2 separate regions of the Homo sapiens genome follow, and region 2 is linked to region 1. The links are contacts of gene promoters, found by promoter capture Hi-C in human tissues and cell types (Jung and others, 2019). All regions are on one chromosome and are shown on one strand. Each heading gives the region's core, a stretch centred on a gene start or on the middle of the fragment in contact. The rest is flanking DNA. Distances are from core to core; before and after follow the strand shown. Region 1 holds the start of DISC1 (DISC1 scaffold protein). Region 2 overlaps DISC1 (DISC1 scaffold protein).

The links. Contacts are between HindIII fragments. The study calls those that stand out against the background at their distance.
Region 2: a contact is called between a fragment that was not itself captured here and the fragment with the promoter of DISC1 in region 1, in 2 of the 25 tissues and cell types used here (H1 embryonic stem cells and IMR-90 fibroblasts).

Annotation. Positions count from the first base shown.
Region 1 is chr1:231,621,908-231,629,625 of GRCh38, reverse strand. It overlaps DISC1 (DISC1 scaffold protein), which reads right to left and starts at 2,836. Exons shown (of 13, transcript NM_018662.3): 1 at 2,692-2,836. The coding sequence starts at 2,758. The region is part of intron 5 of TSNAX-DISC1 (TSNAX-DISC1 readthrough (NMD candidate)); the gene reads right to left. RefSeq lists silencers at 1,117-1,317, 2,291-2,350, 2,681-2,940. The HindIII fragment of the contact is 12,044 bases long and covers 1-7,718 here.
Region 2 is chr1:231,715,989-231,723,706 of GRCh38, reverse strand. All of the region lies in intron 3 of DISC1 (DISC1 scaffold protein), which reads right to left. All of the region lies in intron 7 of TSNAX-DISC1 (TSNAX-DISC1 readthrough (NMD candidate)), which reads right to left. Among named protein-coding and RNA genes, the nearest start is that of DISC1, 93 kb to the right of the region's middle. The HindIII fragment of the contact is 4,044 bases long and covers 1,705-5,748 here.

The DNA.
Region 1 (7,718 bases), core at 1,587-4,086:
AAGCTATTTGTCTACCTTGGTGAGATTACAGTATTTTTTAGTGTTCACTTACTTGTTTGTAGCTTTCTGTGCTTCCTGTAATGAGCATGCATTGCTTTTGGAAAAACAAAAACCAATAAGATAAACTTAATTTAGGAAACAAATAAACTAGGAATTGTTTCTGCAGCACAGAAACAGAGCATTCACGCTCCTCTCGGAAGTTTCTGCTTTCTTCTGGAGGCATCTTGGGTGAGCAATGAACTTCCTGCAGAAAAGTCCCGGGGCCCAGCCCTGCAAAGTAACCATGACACCCAACGCCTCGATTTCCGGTTACACCTCATGTGCTATCCTAAGGGTTCTGGCAAATGAGTGTTGAAACAAAACAAAACAATCCAGATACCACTTAGAGATTTGTGATGAGATCTTGCAACCTGTTCTTTCAATGTTTTAATAACTTTTCTGCAAATTGTCATCATTTGTTTTACAAGAAGATAGTTTAAAGTATATTTTATAAAATAAGTCTGAGGGAAATTAAAATTATGCCAAAGCCTCTTTTGCCAGGATTAACAGTTCACTCTTACATTTTGGGTCTATAGATATGCAGGATGGAGGTTGGGCCTGGTGGCTCATGCCTGTAATCCTAGCGCTTTGGGAGGCCAAAGTGGGAGGAATGATTGAAGCCAGGAGGTCGAGACCAGCCTGAGCAACATAGCAAGACTCCAACTCTAAAAAAAAAAATTAGCTGGGCATGGTGGCATGCGCCTGTAATCCCAACTACTCAAAAAGCTGGAACAGGAGGATCTCTTGAGCCCAGGAGTTCAAGGCTACAGTGAGCCATGATTGTGCCACTGCACTCCATCCTGGGTGACAGAGCAAGACTCTGTCTCCTAAAGAAAAAAAAATTACCTAAATTCTAATATAGGTCTGTTCTGAATCACAGCTCCACTCTATAAGTTCAGTTTGGCAAGCGGCCAAGAACACAGTTGTGAGTGGCACCCACACCAGGGTTCTAATCCTGGCTTTACACTTAAGAGCTCTGTGAGCTTGGGAACCAAGCAGGGTGACCCTGAACCTCAGCTTTGTCATAGGGAAATGAGGACTGTAATCCCAGTCCCATAAAGATGCAGGGAGGATTTCATCAAAGGAATTCATAATAAAATGTCTGGCACATTGTAAGTTCTAAAAACCTGCAGATGTTACCATTCCCTCCTAGTACTATCATGTCTTATATGTGCATAGTGACTCATACTCCACAAGGTGCTTTCAGATCTTTTGCCTCATTTAATCCTCAGGCAATGCGATCAGTACAAAAGGCAGTAATTACTACCCCCATTTTTCTTTTATCTTTTTTGTAAACAGATGAGAAAACAGGCTCAAAGTCAAAGAGCCCGAAAAGCGGGTATCTTGTCCACGGTTCTTTTTGCTCTGTGGCACAGAACTGAACCTCAGAGGACTTCATGTACCATGCCGAGCACAGGAGAACTACATGTGTTTTTAAATGCCCTACTATTCCTGCATTAATCAAATCAAACTGGTATTCTCACATTACTCCCAATTATTTAGATTTTGCCTAGGAAAAATAGCAACTAAGGTTTTTTGAGAGTGCACTGGGTATTTCAGGCATTGGGCGAGGTGCTTCACTTCCACCATCACAGTTAAACCGCATAACAACCCTATGAAGCAGGTACTGTCATAGTCTCCTGCATGTCCAGGATTGACATGCAGGCAGACTGTCTCCAAACCCCAGTTCCTATGGTCCTAGTGCTGTCCAATTCAAATTTGTCCAGTTGATGATAACACTTTGCAAATTGATTTCCCATACAACAAACCTAACGACACATGGAGGCCAGGCTATGAGTGTTCTCCTTTACATTTCAGGAGACTGAGGCTCTGAGAGGTTAAGCGACTGACCCAGCCCTGTCCTCACCCAGCAAGAACACAAGGCAGCACTCCCTAACTCCAAATCTCACTGTCTTTGGAAAACCTCACATTTTAAGAGTGAGAAGGTAGAAGTCCTGTCATTGTTGAAAAACAACCATCCACAATCATCACTAAGAGTTGACAGCGAGACCCGCGCTCCAGGCGGTGGAAACCGAGCAGTCTCCGGCTTGGGCCATCCCCGTTACTGTAGCCAAGTAGGAAGTGGGCGGTGACACTGATTTCAGAGCAGCCCCTAGGGAAGGCACAGGCACCAGTTCCTGGTCCCGCTCCCAGCCTCCTCCCTCCAGGTCCCCGAAGGGGTGGAACCCGAGATCCAGCTGGGTCTTGGGGTTAAGGCGGGCGGGACGTCCCCTGTCCCGAGGGGGCGCAGGCTGGGGCGCACCGCAACGAGAGTGCAGGCGGCGCAGGTGTCCCAGGACGGGGACGGATCCAAACCCCAAGCACGCCTCTGCAACCTTTCCCGGTCACCTGGACACGCAGCGGGGGCGCGGGTCAGACTCCTACAGTTTCGCAAACTGCGGGTCCCGGGGATCGCTGCACAGTCCTGGGTCAGGGACCTGGCCCGGCTCGGCGCTGGTGCCGGGCTGGCAGCCCAAGACTCGCTCTTCTCTCAACCTCGCACGCCTCGCGTCCTGCCTCAGTTTCCCTCACCTCGAAAGGGGTTGTTAACAGAGGCACGCCCTGACCTACGCGACTTCCTGGGGGCCAGAGCGCGCCCTCCTTGCCAGGACCCCCCCAGGACGTGCTAGGACTCTGTGGCAGCTCCCCTACCTGCGCGGTGGCTCACGCCGCCGCCGCCGGCGGCGGCTGGGGCGCCCTGAGGACCCCCGCCTGGCATGCGCCCCGCTGCCAGCTCCTCCCGCTCCGCCTGGGCTGCCTCCTGCTCCTTCCCCGAGGCCAGAGGCGGGGGGAAGGGAGCAGCGCGCTGGACGGGAAGTGGGGAGGGGGCTGGCGACGAAGGGGGCGGCTCCTTTCTTCTCCTCAGCGAGTCCGCTGTTTCCTTTCCAGCATTGGCCCCTGACGCGCGCGCGCGCGCGCACACACACACACACAGACATACACACACACGCTGCTGGAGCGGGCGGGGCCAGCGGCCCTCACAGCCTGTCTCCGGGATCTCAGGACCTCAGAAAGTTTGCTTTCACTCTGACTCATTTCTGGAAGAAACAAGAGGGGAAGTGCAGGAAGCCTCCAGGATGGGGTACAGGAGGGCGCCTTCCAGACGCATGATTTAAGAAGTGACCACACAGTGATGGAGAAGATGGAGGGATGTGAGGGGCTCATTTATACAAAGTGGGGGCGGGGGGGAGGAGTGGGGATAACTGATGACCCTGGAAAGAGATGAGTGGGAGCAGATGTTTAGAAATGAGATAGGATTCCAACTTCTAGCATCTTCCAGCAGCTCCGGGCTGGTTCCAGGACACAGAAGTCCATGCAAGCTCCTAGGCAACTGACTCCCCCCTTCACCCCTTCTCTTTGGTTCATTCAAGGAAGCTACTGGAGCACCCCCTAGGTAGCACCTGCTATAGGACAATGGGTACAAGGAAGGGCTACACATGAGCTCTTTGCCCTTAAGCAGCTCACCTCCAGGCTAGAAGGAGAGCACGTGCATAGAAAACGAAATCACAACATGAGATAGAATGTGCCATGTGCCAGAGGCTTGGCACAAAACCTCTTGCAATGGTTCAGGGATAGGAGGGAGAACTGTGAAGAAGAAGGGTTGGGGAGACGTTCTGCAGGAATGGGAAGGATCTCCTTAGAACGAGAGGAGTTAGAACTAGAGGAAGGCTGAGGTCCTTCAAAAGCTGAAGATCTTAAGACTGAAAGCACACAGTTGTACTTAAAATCAGTGTGTTTGCCCGGCATGGTAGTGCACTCCTGTAGTCCCAGCTACTCGGCAGGCTTAGGTGGGAGGATTGCTTGAGTCCAGGAGTTCAAGGCTTCAGTGAGCTATGATGGGGCCACTGCACTCCAGCCCAGGTGACAGAGAGAGACCCCCCACACCCCCACCACATCTCTAAAAATAAATAAATGTATGAATATCTAAGGCCAGGCACTTTGGGAGGCCAAGGTGGAAGTTCACTTGAGTCCAGAAGTTTGAGATCAGCCTGGGCAACATAATAAGAACCTCTTTTTTTTTTTTAACTTTTAAGTTCAGTTTGTTACATAGGTAAACTTGTGTCATGGGTGTTTGTTGTACAGAGTATTTTGTCACCCAGGTATTAAGCCTAGTGCTCATTAGTTGTTTTTCTTGATCCTCGCCCTTCTCCTACCCTCCGCCCTCCAAAAGGCACCAGTGTGTGCTGTTCCCCTCTATGCGTCCATGTGTTCTCATCATTTATCTCCCACTTATAAGTGAGAACATGCAGTGTTTGGTTTTCTGTTCTTGTGTTAGTTTGCTAAGAATAATGGCCTCCAGCTCCATCCATGTCCCTGCAAAAGACATGATCTCATTCTTTTTTATGGCTGCATAGTATTCTATGGTATATATGTACCATATTTTTTTATCCAGCCTATCATTGATGGGCATTTAGATTGATTCCATATATTTGCCGTTGTGAATAGTGCTGCAGTGAACATGTGTGTGCATGTGTCTTTATAATAGAATTATTTATATTCCTTTGGGTGTATACCCAGTCATACGATTGTTGGGTCAAACAATATTTCTGTCTTTGGGTCTTTGAGGAATCACCACACTGTCTTCCACAATAGCTGAACTAATTTACACTCCCACCAACAGTGTAAAAGTGTTCCTTTTTCTCCACAACTTCTCCAGCATCTGTTATTTTTTGACTTTTTAGTAATACCCATTCTGACCGGTGTTAGGTGGTATTTCATTGTGGTTTTGATTTGCATTTATCTGATAATCAGTGATGTTGAGCTTTTTTTATATGAATGTTGTCCACATATATGTCTTCTTTTGAAAAGTGTCTGTTCATGTCCCTTGCTCACTTTTTAATGGGGTTGTTTGGTTTTTTCTTGTAAATATAAGTTCCTTATAAGATGCTGGATATTAGATCTTTGTTAGATCACAGTTTGCAAAATTGTTTTCCCATTCTGTAGGTTGTCTGTTTACTCTGTTGATAGTTTCTTTTGCTGTTCAGAAGCTCTTTAGTTTAATTAGATCCCAGTTGTCAATTTTTGCTTTTGGCATCTTTGTCGTGAAATCTTTGCCCATGCCTATGTCCTGAATGGTATTGCCTAGGTTGTCTTGCAGGGATTTTATAGTTTTGGGTTTTACAATTAAGTCTTTAATACATCTTTAGTTAACTTTGTATAAACTGTAAGGTAGAGGTCCAGTTTCAATCTTCTGCATATGACTAGCCAGTTATCCCATCACCATTTAGGAAATTCTTTACCCATTGCTTGTCAAAACCCTTTCTATAAAGAAAAAAAAAATTAATTAGCCAGCACAGTGGCCTGTACCTGTAGTCCCAGCTACTTGGGAGGCTGAAGCAGGAGGATCACTCTAGCTCAGGAGGTCGAGGCTGCACTGAGCAGTGATTGCACCACTTCCCTCCAGCCTAATAGAGTGAGACCAGGCTAATAGAGTGAGACCCTGCCTAAAGAGAGAGAGAAACAGAGAGAGAGAAGCTTCAAATCCTGCCTGAATTTTTAGCCTAGCAGCCTGCCCTTCAAATTTCAAACTTGCTAGACCTTAAAATCAAGTGAGCCAATTCCTTAAAATAAATCTTTCTCTTCTTTCTCTCTTTTGCCTCTTTCTCTATCTTTTTCTTCTCTCTATCTCTTTCTCCTCTCTTTATCTCTCTCCGTTTCTCTCTTTCTCCTCTCTCTCTCTTTCTCTTCTGTCTTCTCTATCTATCTGTCTATCTATCTATCTGTCTTCCTGTCCTCCTCCCACTTGCTCACTCCTTTCTTTGGGTCCCCTTCATTAGTTTCTCCCCTTCTCCCCACCCCTTATCTTGGATCTCCCCAGAATTTAATCCATGGCTTGCTTCTCTTCTTGAGCATCCCTCATACTTGACCTTACTCATCCCTCTCATCCACTTCCAGGGTTTCAACCACCCGATGCAACCTCAATCAGAATCCCTGACTGCAACCTCTCTCCCAAACTCCAGATTCATATTTCCAACTTACAGATTCTGCTGGGTTCTCAAAGTTAATATCACCAAAATTATTCTCATAGTCCTCTCTAGCACATTCCCAAAACTGCTGCCCTTCCTGTATTAAATTTTCTTCAAGATAGCTTTACTCTCTTCTTCTCCTCCCAGCCAATCCTACATCCCCGCTCACCTTCGCCCTTTCATTCAGCCATTGGATCCTGTCCTTTCCACCTCAGAATTGTCTTTTGTATCCATTTCCTCCTGTCCATCCCTCACTAGCCCTAAATTAGACTGAGCTTCATTGTATTTCCAACTGCCCCCTCAACAGCACCACTTGGTTGTCTAAGAATCCATTCAAACCAACCAAATTGAAAACCATTCCCATTCTTTTCCCCTCAATTCTGTACTTCTAATTGTGTTCCATACCTCCACTACTGGTCCTACCAACCATCTCATTAGCCCTGTGGCATAGTCTGGAAGGCATCATACTATGTGGTTAGGAGGATACGCTCTGCACTCAGATAACGGCACTATATCCAAGCTCCACTACTTCTTAGCTGTGGACTTTGAGAAGTTATTTAACCCTCTGCTAAGTCTCAGTCTGCTCATCTGCAAAACAAAGGTAATGGTGGTACCATAGAAGGTTGCTGTGAGAGGGTCCGATATATGGTCTAGAGTGGGGCCCAGGCAATGGATTTTTTTAAGCCCTCCAGGTGATTCTAAAGCACAGTGAGGGTTGGGACCCCCTTCTGTAGTGGTAGTATGGACAGATTTGTGGTAGATGCAGAAAGACTGATTAGGAAACAGGTAGGAGTTCCAGGTAAGACACCATAAGCATTTGTAACAAGGATAGAGAAGATATGGCTGGCTGAGCGCGGTGGCTCACACCTGTAATCCCAGCACTTTGGGAAGCCAACACAAGTGGAACGCTTGAGTCTAGGAGTTCAAGACCAGTATGGGTGACATGGTGAAACCCTATCTCTACAAAAAAAAAATTAGCTGGGTATGGTAGCATGCACCTGTAGTTCCAGCTACTTGGGGGGCTGAGGCAGGAGGATCACTTGAGTCTGGGAGGTTGAGGCTGCAGTAAGCCATGTTCACGCCAATGCACTCCAGCCTAGATGACAAAGTAAGACCTTGTGTCAAAATGAGAGGAGAGAGAGTGAGAGAAAAAGGGAGAAAATGGGGCCATATTCAAGAGACACTTAGGAAGTAAAATTATATGAAACTTGGTAACTAGATGTTGAGGGTAATTGAGAGGAAAGCATCTAAGATGACTCCAGCTTTTAATTTAGTTGACTAGGCTAGGTGGATATGGTTCCCAAATATGTTTGTTCATTATAAGCACTTGGGGAAAATTTATATATTTTTTCCTAGCTGTTATGTATTATATATTCCTAGTCTTATCAAAGACCTGTGTGCAAGATTATTCTATTTTCACCTTGATTATTCTGGGAACTATGTTTTGCAGAATCACCTTCCCTGAATGGATCCCAGCTACACTTGGCCAAAAGAATAATATTTGGGAGGTGGCAGTGAGCAGTAGTCATTTTGTTCTAAGGTTACTGTTGGTTGGAGACAGTCAGAGACAGATGCAAAGGTGCTGGTGGTTTCCAGTTTGCCCTGTCTCTCCCTATTCCATGCCCAGGTCTCCTCCTCAACTACTAGCTCTATGGACCAATAGCAGCCCCAGGCTCCCTATGAGATGCTTGTCTGCACATTCACAGAGGAAGT
Region 2 (7,718 bases), core at 2,477-4,976, 93 kb before region 1:
ATGGAAGACTGAATTTGAGAATAACACTAACAGTGGCTGACAGTGTCATAATCCAATTGATGAGACAAAAATCACCAGAGCAGACTGTTATAAGACAGAATAGGACCAATATTTTAAAATGTTTGCTCTGGACAGGCCATCAGAGAAGTCTGATATAACAGACATGCTATATGAAATTTAACCTTTGATGTAACCACAGGACTGCACAGAAAGAATAACGTTCACTTAAACCAGACCAGAAATAAGTTCTGCACAAAGAGTAAGGTCGTAGCCAGTGCACCTGATCTCACAGCAATAATTCTGGAAGCAAGGGAAGAAGATCATCGCCGTTCCACAGACCTGAGTTTACAGGTCTTCCTGCAGGAGCTTCCTGCCCAGATGTTCTGCCTGCAGTTATGGTTGACCCTTGAACAACACGGGTTTTAACATGTGAGTCTACTCATAGGCAGACTTTTTTTTCAATAAATACAGTCTGTATCAGGGGTTCCAGATCCTTAATCCAACATGAATCAAAAATACAGCATTCGCCAAGTGTAAAACCTGCAGATATGGAGGGCCGACTTTTCATATCCACTGAAAACAAGACTTGAGTACACGTGGATTTCTGTATCCACAGGCGTCCTGGAATTAATCCCCCATGGATATCAAGGGACAACTGTAGTACATATTGCCACCAAGGGGAAAATGATTCCTTCATAATTGTCCTAAAGGCCTCCGAAGTTTAATTCCCGTAACTGACATTAATCATAGCATATTTTTCCATTTGCTTTTGGGTGGTTTCTCCCCCCTACAAAAATCTAATTGTCCCAACACAGAACAATAGCGGTTTTTTCATGCCATGACAGGGGACTGGGAAACGCATGGGAGAAACGGTACAGTGGGCAGAAATGCCCACCTGGTTTTTTTCAAGCCCATGGCCAGCATCCAGACAGCTGCTATCCTGAAATAATGTTAAAAGGGAGAGGAATATGATGCTACCCTGATCATAAATGAGCGTATTCTTCCACGTGGGTCCTCTTTTTCTTTTCATGATGTCTAAAGAAGTCATGATCTACGCTGTGTGGATATCTATTTGTCTTGCTTTGTTTAAATTTGGGAAGTTTCATTAATAGGAGTTTGGTTCAGGATGTCGAGGCTTCCATGGTGGATCCAAAGCAATTGGTTCCAGCTGCCAAGAAGAAAATGAATACCTCTGAGTGGAATGGACACAGAATAACATCCTTGACTGGGACTAACAGTATTTGAAGCACTGTGATGTTTATGCTGGACACACTTGTTCGAGTGTGGATAAGTAGAAAGATCTATTTCATAGAGCAGTCCAGGCAGAGCTGTCCGCATTCTACAGAACCTCATTTGTATCAAATACCATGGTCATTCCAGGTTAAGCATCTCTAGCATACTGTGTTTTTTACTCAAAATTCAAGCTTCTATCAAACATGAAAAAGAAGCCCAGATTTGGGAGGAATCTCTTCCTTTCTCTCAACAATAGTTTCCAAATATCTGAGATACCATTTTTGAAAGTCCTTAAGGCAGTGCTTTTTTTTTTTTTTTTTTTGAGATGGAGTCTTGCTATGTCGCCAGGCTGGAGTGCAGTGGCGCGATCTTGGCTCACTGCAAGCTCCGCCTCCCAGGTTCATGCCATTCTCCTGCCTCAGCCTCCCGAGTAGCCGGGATTACAGGTGCCCGCCACCACACCCGGCTAATTTTTTGTATTTTTAGTAGAGATGGAGTTTCACCATGTTAGCCAGGATGGTCTCAATCTCCTGACCTCATGATCTGCCCGCCTCGACCTCCCAAAGTGCTGGGATTCCAGGCGTGAGCCACCGTGCCCAGCCAAGGCAGTGCTTTTCAAGAATTTTTGTTTACTTCTTGATTTTTTTTCATTGTTTGTTTTTCTTTTTCTTTTTTTTAGCAACAGAGCCCTTTTTGAGATGAAATCTTACTGGACTAATAACAGATGGAAACCAAAGTACTCTGGATGAAGCTTCCCTTTCAGCCTTCCCTAAGGCATCTCTGAGGCTCCTCAGAACACAATTTGAAAAGCACAGCCTTCTGGTGTTCTGAAGAGAATACATGGATCCAAAAAATGTTGAACAGCTGTAAATATCAGCAACCCCAGGTTGCCAAGTTTTTGTTGCTGCCCCAAGTCCATATGATATAAATGAACATTTCATTGTATAAGGTCTTTAAGAAAAATAAAAGATTTATATCTTTTGATACAGTTTTGATATATCTGATTTCATAAATATGCATCAAATATTAATCTCAGCCAGATTTACTTACTTGGAGCATGAAGCCAAATCCTCAACTGTGGTACTAAGGATTTTATTAGAATTCTAACTTTCCAGAGAGTATTTTTAAACATTTTCTTCTAATTTTTTCTCTCCTAAAAACTTTTTTTCTTTTTTTTTCTCATCTGTAGTGTGGAAAAGAATAAAAAGCAGATAACATTATCCACAATACTCCAACCAGGGACAGCCTGAATTAATATGTTGACATAGCTCCTTTCAATCAGCACAGTTTTTATATGTATTATTTCCTCTGTTTCTTTCATCAGCCCAGCAAGGTAGGTAGAGCTAATGTTATTGTACTCATTTGGCAGATGAGGACATCATTTCTCACATCAGGACAGACCTGGCTCTGGAAAAAAGCTGGGAAAAGTTCCAGAATGGCATGCCCATTTTCCATTGTCAATTTTCATGATCCGTATCCACAGTTGCTGTTCACCCCAAATGAAAATGTAACCCTTCCAGTGACTTCCTGCAGAGGTAAAGTAAATTACCTGTGGTTATTAATGCAGTCAATGTCAGAACTAGGTATGCAAAGTGAGATGACTGGTAGCAACTTCCTCCAACAAACCTGTAAACGAAACGACAACACGTTTCCTACCTGCTGCTCAGAACCACTTCTGCCCTGTGACTATCTGGGAGAAGGAACAAACTTAAGAACTTCACATTTTAGCCCTCATGCAGAAAGCCCCAAGGGAAAAAAATCACCCAGTGGTAGAAAACTAAAAGTAGTCAAGTTAGGGAACGGCAAAAATGAAGCATTAGAAAAGCTGAGAAGAGGCCGAGTGCAGCAGCTCACACCTGTAATCCCAGCACTTTGAGAGGCCGAAGTGGGAGGATCGCTTGAGGCCAGGCATTCAAGACCAGCCTGTGCAACATAGTGAGACCCCGTCTTTATAAAAAATTTTTAAAATTAGCCAAGTGTGGTGGCATGCACCTGTAATCCCAGCTTCTTGAGAGGCTGAGGCAGGAGGATCGCCTAAGCCCAGGAATTTGAGGCAGCAGTGAGCTATGATCATGCCACTGCACCCCAGCTGGACAACAAAGCGAGACCCTGTCTTAAAGAAAAAAAATTAAAAAGAGTAAAGAAGAAAACATCCTATGGTAAAAGCAAAGAGCAAAGAGGAGAGGAAGACAGCTTACAAAGACAGAAAAGTCAAAAGACTATAGTGGGGTACCTGCGAGTAACCAAGTCCTTGGCAATGAAAATTCATTATGAGCAAATCTCACCTCACAATAAACTCCTAGAGGAACTAATTACACTAAATGTTCTGGCCATGACTTAGGGAGTAGTCATCCCTAAGGCACCCTTGGGTATATGGAAGTTGCCACGCTCGGTAGCAAACAGGGGCTGCTTCAGTGTCTGTCTCCTGTCGGGTTAGTGTTCTATCAAGCCTGTCAATTGCAACTTATTTTGTGTTATGAGACAAGCTGGCACATTGTATAAAGGTCAAGTGGAAAACTGTCCCTTCTGCTACATCGCTGTCATCAGCTACTAAAGGTCATTCCACCCAATACATGGCTGTGACGGAAAATAACTTTGTTTGTCTACTGTGACATATGAAAAAGTCCTTCTGCTGTGAGCTTTTTGGTTTCTCTCTACTCTCAACAGGCATCAAATTAGGTGCGCTAAGGTTATCTAAGAAAATGATTATCTAAGAAAATAATCAGTTCGCAAATACATTTGAACAAAAAAACACAAAGAGATTAAAAAGCCTATCTCTAGCAGATCTAAAATACCTAAATATTTTACCAGTGAGTATAATTTAACAAACATTCATTCTGAATGATACATAACCCAAATATTTAGCATGCACCATCTCATTTAATTCTCCAAACAACCCTATTATCCCATTTTATAGATAGAAAAAATAAAGCTTAGAAAGAATAATTTGTCCAAGCTTATACAGCTAGCAAATGGCAGAATTGAACTTTGCAGTCAGGTTTTTAACAAGGTTGACCTGAAAAGCGCTAATGCTTTATAATTCTATTGTTAGTAGAATTATCAGCTATTAATAATGTAACAATGATAATAAGATGATAAGTGATAATAAGATGAATTCACTTGTTCATCCAACAACCACTTCTTGAGAGGCTACTTTGACCAAGCACTATGCTAAGTTCTGGGGATAAAGAGTAAAAATGAATAGGGTCTCTTTCTTTCCCTAGGAGGCTAACAGTTTAGCCAAGAGGACAGCCAATAGCTATGCTAAAACACAATATGTATGAGGATAGAGAATATACCAAGCACTCAAAAGAAGGGGCACTGAAACCAAGTCTTTTTTGTTTTTTTGGAGACAGGGTCTTGCTCTGTCACCCAGGCTGGAGTGCAGTGGTGTGATCATAGCTCACTGCAGCCTCGACCTCCTGGGCTTAAACAATCCTCCAGCCTCAGCCTCCCATGTAGCTGAGTCTATTGATGCACAGAACCATGTCTGGCTAAATTTTATAGACATGGGGTCCTGCTATTTGCCCAGGCTGGTCTACAACTCCTGGCCTCAAGTCCTTCCACCTCAGCCTTCTAAAAAGCTAGGATTGTGGCATGAGCCACACCATGACCAACCAGAAACCAAGTCTGGATGACCTAGTAGGAGAAGGAGGTGGTAAGTGCAGGCAGAGGTACTAAACAGTGGACAAGGCAGTATGCCTTCGGGAACTACCAAGGGACTAAAGAGAAAGTTGCAGCCAGGTGCGGTGGCTCATGCCTGTAATCTCAGCCCTTTGGGAGGCCGAGGCGGGCAGATGACCTGAGGTCAGGAGTTCGAGACCAGCCTGGCCAACATGGAGAAACCCCGTCTCTACTAAAAATAGAAAATTTGCCAGGTGTGGTGGCACATGCCTGTAATCCCAGCTACTCGGGAGGCTGAGGCAGGATAATCGCTTGAACCCGGGAGACGGAGTTTGTGGTGAGCCAAGATTGCACCATTGCACTCCAGCCTGGGCAACAAGAGCAAAACTGCAACTCAAAAAAAAAAAAAAAAAGAGAGAGAAAGTTGCTTGAAGTGGGGAAGGAATGGCAAGAAATGAAGTTAGAAAGCTAAGCAAGGGCCAGGGCAAGAAGCTGGTTATGGCAGGCCATATTTAACATTTGTCCTGATAGTGACATTAGTCACGCAGAGAGATGAAGTAGAAAAGCAATTGTAAATGAGTTTTAGAAAGAAGACTGGTTACAACATGAAGGATGATTGGAAAGGGATTGAAGGATGATCGAAGGATGCTTTGGAGGGGGATGAAAATAGAAACCAAGGACCCATTAAGAGGCGAGTGCGTGTGTCCAGACAACACTTACGAGATCAAAGGACAGAAGGAAGAGATACTTAAGAGATAAAATCGAAAAGGTGTAGTGGCTCATGTCCCGGGAGAGCTGAAAGTCCACAATGACCCACAGGCTTTTTTCTGCTTGACTTGCCATTCATTGTAATAGGGGATATGGCAAGAGGAGCTGGGCTGAGATATAACAAAGATCAGGAACTTCTAGAGGGATGGTGGGAAAAAGATAGTCTTTAGATCTTAGTTTGGACATTCTATACAATAGTATTGGAAAATAAAATGGTGCCATGAATTCAAGTCTTTTTTTTATTAATGAAGAGATTTGACTGTCAAGAAACAAATGGACAATGAAAGCAATTCTCGCACTATGACAAGCAGGCAAATGAAGTAAGGAGGTTGTGGAATTGTCTGATGCGTTCATACAACACATAGAATTATTGAATGGTGCTCAGTCTATGGGACCTGGAGACTTTTGGCAGTGAGAAGATTGCTGGAGTGATCTCTCTTCTTCACTGCTGCTTATTTTCCAACTCCACTCAGTCCCTACTCTGAATACATGACCCTTGCCACCTTGACCCACTTGATCTACCTTTCCTCATCAACAAGCAAAACTGAAATGGCCAATGCAGGACCCCACGCCTATGGCTCAGTGAGACAGAGTCAGCAGAGGGAGGCGGGCCTTGGCTTTTCTGACCAGTTCAAACTGTAGCAAGGCTCCAGACTCCAGATCATACACAATCAGCCTAGAGACCCCCAGCTACCACTACCAACACCAAAGCAGAAAAGACCAATCCCTCCTATAACTTTCTACCCACTCGTGAGATGCCCTTTGGTTCTGCCAAGGGCCTGCCTTCCTCCAACTGAAGACCTTGTTAACCTTCAAATATTTATATACCATAAAGGTTTTTATTTCCGAGACTTGCAGGAAACTTATTCACATTTCCCTAGAGAACTTTTTTTTAATGGGCCACAATTCATCTCCCAAAGACAGGACCTCTAGAGCAGCTGATGCATTCACACCATGCTTTGAAGCCCTCATTGACTTAGGAATAGGAGCTGGGCCAAGCAACAGGATGAGAGAACAGCCAAACACAAACTGCAGAGCTTGCTAAATCTGGAAGGAACCGCCACTCAAGATTTTCTTCTGGCATGCCTCTCTGCCATCCAGAACGTGTTGGTAGTGGATTTGATATTGATTTTTTATTAGACAGGATGCAAGATTTAATTAAGTGCCCAGACACTTTATAAAAACAAATTAGCTGTCCAGTCCATCACCCAGAGCAAGGAATTCCACGAAGGAGCACAGGCGCCATCTCGTTGCCATTATGCAAAGGAAATGGACTCCATGTTTGTAAATGACCATTTTAAATGGAAAGATTAAATGGTTACCTGAGAATTACACCTTAGCCTTCTCTGCCCATGAGGGTGAAGGCCACAAAACAGTAGAGACCCACAGAAACATAATCAGAAGAGAGAGAGCTTTCAACCTCTCTTTCTTCAGTCTTGTCTTTAGTATTCCATGTATGTCCCATTTTCCTCCTTCCCTTTCCATTTTTTTTCCTTCCACTCTTAAAAGCAGGATTGCCAGTTCTTTCAAAGCCCAAGCAGGGTTTCAATTTCATTTTCTCAATGTCATCCAATGTCATGCAACAAAGCATCAGGCAGAAAACGAGAGATTCTAGGTCATGAAATTTAGACTGCAGATAAAAAAAATAGTTTGCCATACGACAATGTGAAGAGTAGTCAAGCTTTAAATGCTTCTTTATAATTTGCATGTTTTAATATATATTGCTTTACTTCATTTCCAATTTTTTTTTTTTTTTTTTTTTTTTGCAGATTGAAAGAAATCAGGCTATGTGCAAATAAGCTTCTTATTGCCAAACAGAAAAGAAGCCAAATCATTGCATCTTATTTTCTGCACGCTATTGGCACTAACTGCTGGCAGGGAGATTTTTCAGAAGCATCCACACTTTACACAGTGTTTTCTAACATGTAGCACCCGGGGGTAGCGGGTAAGTGGTAGGTAGAAAAAGAAAAGGCAGCAAATAATTCTTCAATACCTCCAGGCACTGTGCAGGCATCTCACACACATCATTATCACATTTAACCTTCCACCCACACAGCAGGATAGGTATTATTATGCCTAGTTTATCCAGGAAC